Linked DNA regions of Homo sapiens: all the other regions are linked to region 3. Evidence: promoter capture Hi-C in human tissues and cell types (Jung and others, 2019). All regions are on one chromosome and are shown on one strand. Each heading gives the region's core, a stretch centred on a gene start or on the middle of the fragment in contact. The rest is flanking DNA. Distances are from core to core; before and after follow the strand shown. Region 1 has its middle 95 kb from the start of LINC01482. Region 2 has its middle 120 kb from the start of LINC01482. Region 3 holds the start of WIPI1 (WD repeat domain, phosphoinositide interacting 1).

Region 1 (2,700 bases), core at 112-2,611, 270 kb after region 3:
AGGTGGGTGGATCACAAGGTCAGGAGTTCAAGACCAGCCTGGCTAATATGATGAAACCCTGTCTCTAAAGATACAAAATGTATATATATATATGTATTAGCCAGGAGTGGTGGCATGCATCTTTAATTCCAGCTACTTGGGAGGCTGAGGCAGGAGAATTGCTTGAACCCAGGAGGTGGAGGTTGCATTGAGCCGAGATCGCGCCATTGCACTCTAGCCTGGGTGACAGGACAAGAATCTATCTCAAGAAAAAAAAAAAAAGAAAGAAAGAAAGTACTGCACAAATATAAGAACTCACCATGATTACTTTTATGATTGTGTGAGGAGACAAAAGGTAAATTATGGTAAGTACTGTAATTTAGCCAATGATATGAGCAAGATCAAAAAGAATAACAAAGATATTTTTTATTGCAATGAGAGGAAAATGCAATGCACAAGGAATTCTCATTGCTTTTGTGTGTTTGAAAATGTCCATGACAACATGGTTTAAAAAATACTTTCTTATTTTAAAAACTAATTCCCTGAAAAAGTTTTAAAAAATACTTCCTTGTTTGGCTATTAAAGATTAGCTAGGATGATGGTTAAAAATAAGGATTCAGTAGCCAGAATACCTGGGTTTGAATTTCGCCTCTGCCACACTCTGTGTGACCTTGTGACCTATTTTATCTTCTTGTGTCTTGCTGGCTTCGTCTATAACATGTGGATAAAAATGGTACCTACACCATAGGCTTGGTAGGAGAATTAAATGAGTTGACGTTTGCTAAGCACTTAATAAATTACATACAAGTATTTGATAAAATACAAATTTTGTACAGAAGCAACAGATTGACCAAATATATTGTGGGTTTCAAATAGCTCCCATTTACAAGGAACATAAGGATCAGAAAGGTTAAATGACTTAATGTCACACTTAGTAAATAGCTGTGGCTGCATTTGATTCTGGGTCTGTCAGATTCCAAAATCTTGGTTCTAGGTGCTGTGCTGTCTCCTGTGGGGAAACTATGATAAGTCAGCCCGGTCTTATTTTGGCAAATGATACTGTATTTACCCTGACATTTAATGATGTCTTGGAGGGTTTCTTGGATGGGTCTGTTTGTGGGAAGGCTGAGATGCAAGTCCTTTTTAGAAGACAAGACTTGTTTATCTTTCATCAGGAGACACTACCTGGGGACCCCTAGATGGTGCCATCAGGACTTTAAAGGATGCCAGAGTTTGACAGGAGGTGAAGTTGGGACCTGAGAAGTACTTTCTGTTATTGGGCTTCCACTTTACCGAATGGGATCAAGGAGATGAAAATTAGAGTAAGAAACACAAGACAGGCCTAGTTGTGCTGCATTGTCCCACCTCATAAATGAAGATCTGTTGGCTGGGAGTGGTGGCTCATGCCTATAATTCCAGCACTTTAAGAGGCTGAGGGTGGGAGGATCACTTGAGCCCAGGAGTTCAAGGCCAGCCTGGGCAACATAGGGAGACCCCATGCCTATTAAAAAAAATCAGCAGGGCAAATTGGCACACACGTTTGATCCCAGTGTCTTGGGAGGCTGAGGTGGGAGGATTGCTTGAGCCCAGGAGGTCGAGGCTGCAGTGAGCCGTGTTTGCGCCACTGTGCTCCAGACTGGGTGACAGAGCAAGACCCTGTCTAAAAAAGCAAACAAAAAGCAACTGCTGTCACTCAATATTAAAAGCTACCAAGTTCGTGAAGCATCCTATGTGCCAGGCACACATATATTAATGCATTCAGATATTAACTTGATTCTTTTAGATGATCCATAGAAGCTCTAGAAGCTTGAATTGTCCTGCAGATTTATTGCCATTATTTGCACTATCTCTTGCTAACAGAATTATCACTGAATGTGTTTTATTAGCTCTAGAGTGAAATAAAAAATAGAACTAGACAGATTATGTAGGCTGCCTCCATCATATGGAAGGATAAGACCATTTCAGCTTTACTCTTATTTCTTCTGGGATAATGTTCTTACTCTTTTTGAATCAGGCTGATCTGAGCCCATCCTACACAAATGAAAAACTGCCAGCCTCACAGGATGTCAGAAGGAAAAATGAACATAGAAATGGGTTAAAACTTACTTTTATTCCTTAAAGAAGAATTAAGAAAAGGTTAGTTGCTTTGACACAGAGAAAATACTCATAAATAAAAACATGGGTAGCCGATAGATTATCCAATAATCTTTCAGCCCAGTTCAGTTTCAATGAATTATACTTCTGAGAATCAAAGCTAAATAGTCAAATGCCACACTATTACATTTTGATGAAAAGAGTGGGATCTTGCTTATCCTTAAATGTGGATTTTAATGACACTCTTGAATCTGGTGGCCAATGCCCTGTGATCACAGTGAGGGTAAAAATAGTAACAGCAACACTGTCATTAACATTGGTATATCTTATTCTTTACAAAAGAGATTCATACGCATTTTCTTATTTGATCTCCTCAATCCTGCATGGGACACTTTAGTTCTCCATTCTTGAAGTGGGAGAAATTAACGTCCAGAGATTATAAGACTTACCTACTATCATTACTAATAACATAAGTCATTAGTAAGTCCAGGACATTTAGAATATTTTCCTCTATCCCATTGTTTTGGACCAAAAAGTAATGAATCTGTGGTAGTGAAGACTGATCTTCATAAAAACACTTTGCATGATACTGGAAATAAGAGGTCATAAATAAATAAAAATTAGCTT
Region 2 (2,700 bases), core at 147-2,646, 290 kb after region 3:
GTAGGAGGTTCTAGGAGGCCGTTGAGTGAATGTCTTGCCATTGTAAAAGTTTCTTGAGCTGCATACTTAAGGCTTGCACATTTCACTATATTTGTGTTTAGTTCAATGCAATTCATAGAAAAGATGAAAATTTGCCAGTGCTGAAGAGTCAAAGGAATGTTGCTATGGGCCATGGAGTTCATTCCCAAAAAGTAGTCCCAAAGCTGTTTTGAGATATGAGAATCAGAGGAAGATATTTACTTTATAAGAGACAATATTCACTTAGATGTTCAGCTCTGCTTGCTAATAAACAAAATCTAGTCTCTTACCTACAGACTTATTCAACCGGTGTTCCTTGAGAGAATTAAGTCCTACAGAAAATGCTTTGAATGACTATTTTCTCAATTCTCCCATAGATAGTACAGAGTTAGGAGCATTTTCGATGCAAACAAGATAAGTTAATACAATGCATGTCCTAGGATCTGAGGGCTTAATTCCCTGCAGGATCCCTGGCTGAGAAGGGGTGTAACTTTAGAATTTCTCCTGGAAAAGTGGTGAGGGGTGGAGGTGGGGAAAATGGGATAAATTCCTACCCAGTTCTCCAGCCTGTCCTTTGACTTAGCATGAAGGTAATTTATTTCCTGATACCAGAGAGAGTGTTTTCAACATTGAAGGAGCAATTGTGCTGTTGAGAAGTAATAGTGTATTTGAAAGCTTCTTTTTCCTTCATTTTTAAAACACTCTTTGAGACATTGGCTGTACTTGGATTTCCTTTTTCGCAGCTCCGTAGCATTTGTTTCTGCCAGAGAATAATGTTTTCTATTTAGGAATCACAACTGAAGAAGTGTTTGAGTCACATATGATTCCAGGGGCTATTGTTTGAGGTCTGCAGATGAAGTGAAAGCAAGAAGATAACCACAAGTTATCACAAATGGCTAAGTGTTTTGAAGAGCAGATATCTACTCCAGATCACCTTCATTTGGTCATTTTTGAACTCATACGAAGGTTGTATTCCCTTTTCTTTCATCTCATACATCCCTACTTTCACCGTTTAGATCAGACATGGCCAGCATAACTGAGGAGCAGACTAGAGGCCAAATCTACTTTTGTCATATCCTCTGCTTGGTTCATCAGCCTGGCTTTAGACCCTAAGAGTTTTTAATCATAATGATACAGGAAGGGGGCAGGGAAGTGCTGGGTAGAGAAGGGTGGGGTCCTTGGTGAGGGTTCTACCCTCGGGCCTAAGCCCATGGACCTAAGTGAGAACAGGCACTCTTGTTTTTGAACCCAAATATTGCATTTTTCAAGACCACTCTGGCCCACCATGCCCCCCATCCTGTGCCCATAAAAATCCGAGACCATAGCAGGCATTGACACAAGTGGCTGGACATTGGGAGGTGCACAATGTCCAGAACACACTGACAGACACCAGTAGACACCAGCAAGCCATCGATGGTGGAACAACGTGGATGCCAAGGGGTATTTGGCCAGGGACGGTCAGAGGTGAGTCTGGCTGCTGGGTGGACGAAGTCCAGGGGAAGACCACCTTCCCACTCCATTCCCCTTTCTAGCTCCCCATCCACCTTACTGAGAGCTGCTTTCACCACTCAGTAAAACCTTGCACTTATTCTCCAAGCCCACGAGTGATCCAATTTTTCCTGTACACTAAGGCAAGAACCCAGGATACAGAAAGCCCTCTGTCCTTGCAATAAGGCAGAAGGTCTAATTGAGCTGATTAACACAAGCCACCTGCAGGTGGCAAAGCTGAAGGAGCACAATGTAACACATGTCCACTGGGGCTTTGGGAGCTGTAAACACTCAACCCTAGATGCTGCTGTGGGGTTGGAGCCCCAAAACACACCCCACGACCTGCCCATCTTCATGCTTCCCCTAGGGGTTTGAGCAGCAGGGCACTGAAGAAGTGAGCCACACTCCTGTTTCATGCCCTGCAAGGGGGATAAAGAAACTTCTCCCGTTTCAGTGGTGTCTAACTTGGTGGTAACTATCATACAAGACTCACACAGTGGCGCCTTGATGCAGGTTGATTCTTGCATCAATTTGAGCAGATTGGCTGAATCAGCACAGGAGATCAGAAGGAGGGAACAGGCTGCTGGACAAGCACAAGGGAGAAGTTGCCTTGCTCCTCTGGAGGGTCATTCAGGTGTGGGCGATATGATCCTTCAGCATCATGGTCTGCAGACACTTGTAGGAGAGGATGCCCGAAACCTTTCATCATAAAAGAAAGAATAAAAGTCAACATTTCCATGAGTTTCTGGATTGTGTTAATGTTAAAGAATCCTATGTCAGTCATTCTTATGCAGATCAGGAAACCCATCTAAATCCCCTGTGTTTGTGGCTCTTGGATTTAAGTTATTTTATTTGAAGATCCTAACTCACTTCTAAGAGGCTTGTGTACCCACAACATCCTGAATGTTAAATATATAGTAGTGTGTTGGCTGTGATTCATTCCAATGACAACCCATTTAATTTGATGGCTAAGATATATGTATAGAAACGGAAAAGAGCCTTATGCTGATGTTATCTATTTAAGACGGATGGCGATTGCTTGTGTCCAGCAGCCAAAGAAAGACATAAATCAATAATACATTTTAATCTTACCTTTGTCTATATCATTTAATAAACATTTATTGGTACTGACTATGAACTAGGTTCTGGGAGAAACAAACGTAAAATATAATCCTCGCCCTCAAGAAACACTCA
Region 3 (2,700 bases), core at 112-2,611:
TTCGTATTGTGGATTGTGGTCAAGAAAAACTTGAAAGTCACTCAAATAACCAAGCTGTAGAGCTACTCGATTACATGATTACACATATGGGTTTTTCAAACAAAGGCATATTGTTCAGCACCGGGTGTTTTTAAACAGAAACATAAAGGGAATGGAAGCCAGGGTGGCTAATGGTACATAATGGCCTTAATTACACCACTGAAGGATCAATATTAGCGTAGCTCAGTCACCAGCAGCCAAGGCACAGAAACTGGTACAGCAGGAAGTGGGAAACTGGGAATCGGTCATCCCCGCCTGATGCTCAGGGTGCACATTCCAAAAAGATGATTCCATATGGTCCCCAGGGCTCGCTTCCATGAAAATAGGGAAAGAAACAGGCGTTTGCCTGTAAGTCACAGAATCCTGCAGATGCCTGAAACACACTTCAGCCCAGCTCCCTCTCAAAGCCCAAATGTGAACATCGAAGTAAAACATTAAAAATCCACTCAAAAACAACAGGGTGGAGCTCCTGTTTCCTGGAGAGAAAGCAGTCTGCGCCCGGGAAAAGAGTCTTGGACTCCGAGAAGGAGATCCTGCCTGGCTGGGTGGGCGATGTGAAAACAGCCAAAGAAATCCAAAGGTTTCTTCCATCCAGAGCGGGCAGGCACGATGCCCTGCGTCGGGGATGGGACAGGGGCTGGCCTGGCCGCAGGGATAGGCTGCCTCTTTGTCCGAGGCCCTGCCCAGATGCCACGTTGAGATGCTCAAGGACAAATGGGAAAGTTTTTCCTGTACTCTCATCTTCCTGGGCCCCAACTACAGAGTCCTGGGTCAACTTGCAACTTCCTCTCCTTTCTCATCTCTTTCTTTTGGCCACTGTCTCTCTTCCCCAGACACCCACTTTGGTCACTGGCTTTCCCACCGCCCTGCTCCCCCCATATTCCGTGGCCCCCGCAGCCCCACCACTCCCTTTGCGAACTCCCTGCTTTCACCCTTGGCCCAACCTTGTCGCTCTGGGAGGACACTGGGAGTGGGGTGGGGTGGGGGGTGCGGCAAACCCCACTGAAGGGGTACGGGGATAACAAGATCCCAATGCGTCCGAAGCAGACACCGGCCCTCCCGCCGAGGCCGCCTCGAGGCGGAAGCCACAAGCTGCTCTCAGGACGACACCCCTGGGTCCTGACACTCTGTCCCCCACCTCCCTGGCAGGGGCCGAGTCGCAGCTTACGTGCAGTCCTGGTTGAAAGAGAAGCAGCTGAGCGCCGACTCAACCCCGCCCGGGGGAGCGTCCGCGGCCTCGGCCTCCATCGGGGGCTCGGCCCGGGAAGCCGCAGCTCGGAGCCGGCGACAGCCACCTCAGCAGCCCGCCCGCGCCGGCTCCACGGGCCGGGTCGCCGGTCCTGCCCCGCCCCTACCCCGCCCCGTCCCCACCCCGCCCCTACCCCGCCCCGTCCCCACCCCGCCCCTACCCCGCCCCGTCCCCGCCGCGTCCCCGGCTTCGCCCCGCCCCTTCTCGCCCCTCCAGCTGGTCCCGAGGACCAGAGCACCTGATAGGGCGGGGCCCCTGCCTCCGGCCACCATTGGCCACGAGCCCAAGCCACGGCTGGCGGGCACCGCCCCCCTTGGCCAATCCGTGGCAGCTGTGGGCGGACCCGCCCGGCTGGCGACCCGCCCCTGGCTTCGTAACGCGGCTCTCCATTGGACAAAGGCGCGTGACGCAAAGGCAGCAGGCCCACGTGGCGGTGTTTTCATTGCCGGAGCCGCCCAGCTGGGAGGGAGAGGGAAGAAGGAATGCGGCTGGGGCCAGATCTGCTGGTTTCAGTCCGGCAACTGCGTCGGGGCCGCCGCAAGGGTGACAGGAGGACGCGCTAGTTCCCACCCCGCCCAGACCCCTTGCCATGTGTAACTCTGCCTATTAAACTTACAGAGTTTAGCAGAGAGCGTTAGACTCCAAAGCCCCACCCTTTTGTCGAGTCCTCAAGCCGCATTGAGAGAAGCTCCTGAAATGGGGCTGCCTCAGCCAGAGAGATAGCAAGTTATCTTATCCATTGCCGAGCGGTTGAGAACCCTCACTACTTGCCAAGCGCGCCGTACTATGTATGTCATCTTGAATTCTTATAAAACTTGTGTGGAAAATACGATTGTGCTCAATATACAGAAGAGGCAACTGAAGCTCCAAAGCTAAACAATTTGTCTAAAGTAACAGTAAATGGTAGAATGTCTGCATGTCTGCTTTCAAGACCTGTGCACTAAATAACTGCTAAACAGTAATTTGCAAAAACAACGTAGCACCTAGCATGCGAGATTCTAGGTTTTCTAACCAGGACAGAAATGACTGCAGCATTTGACGGAGCTGGAAGGTGGGGGGAAGCACCTTTGATCTGAAAAGTTACAAAAATGGCACAAAGTATCTAAACAAGACCTATCCGATCCGCAGCTGAAAAAAATGAAAGTGTGTGTAGGGCAGTGTAGTTTATGAAAGGGGTAACGTCTTGAAGATATAGCACAATTCAAAACTCACGTAATTCGAGATAAACCTTAACAAAGAATCTCTTTTTAAAAGCTGAGTACTGTACATGTTCCCATGCGGAATTACTGTCAATACGGTTTATGAAGCAGGAGCTCTGCCAGCTTTGGATTGTATAACTGCTGATGGATTTTTAATTCATTTTTTCAAATTTTGAGATGATATTTTAGTTATTGTTATATGACAGTCTCTCA

The links. Contacts are between HindIII fragments. The study calls those that stand out against the background at their distance.
Region 1: a contact is called between a fragment that was not itself captured here and the fragment with the promoter of WIPI1 in region 3, in 2 of the 25 tissues and cell types used here (heart right ventricle and neural progenitor cells).
Region 2: a contact is called between a fragment that was not itself captured here and the fragment with the promoter of WIPI1 in region 3, in 1 of the 25 tissues and cell types used here (aorta).

What each region holds. Positions count from the first base shown.
Region 1 is chr17:68,721,305-68,724,004 of GRCh38, forward strand. No RefSeq gene overlaps it. Among named protein-coding and RNA genes, the nearest start is that of LINC01482, 95 kb to the left of the region's middle. The HindIII fragment of the contact is 4,290 bases long and covers 1-2,700 here.
Region 2 is chr17:68,743,748-68,746,447 of GRCh38, forward strand. No RefSeq gene overlaps it. Among named protein-coding and RNA genes, the nearest start is that of LINC01482, 120 kb to the left of the region's middle. The HindIII fragment of the contact is 6,081 bases long and covers 1-2,700 here.
Region 3 is chr17:68,456,135-68,458,834 of GRCh38, forward strand. WIPI1 (WD repeat domain, phosphoinositide interacting 1) reads right to left here and starts at 1,362. Exons shown (of 13, transcript NM_017983.7): 1 at 1,208-1,362. The coding sequence starts at 1,287. It also overlaps a transcript of PRKAR1A not described here. RefSeq lists silencers at 1,102-1,781, 1,518-1,804. The HindIII fragment of the contact is 15,120 bases long and covers 1-2,700 here.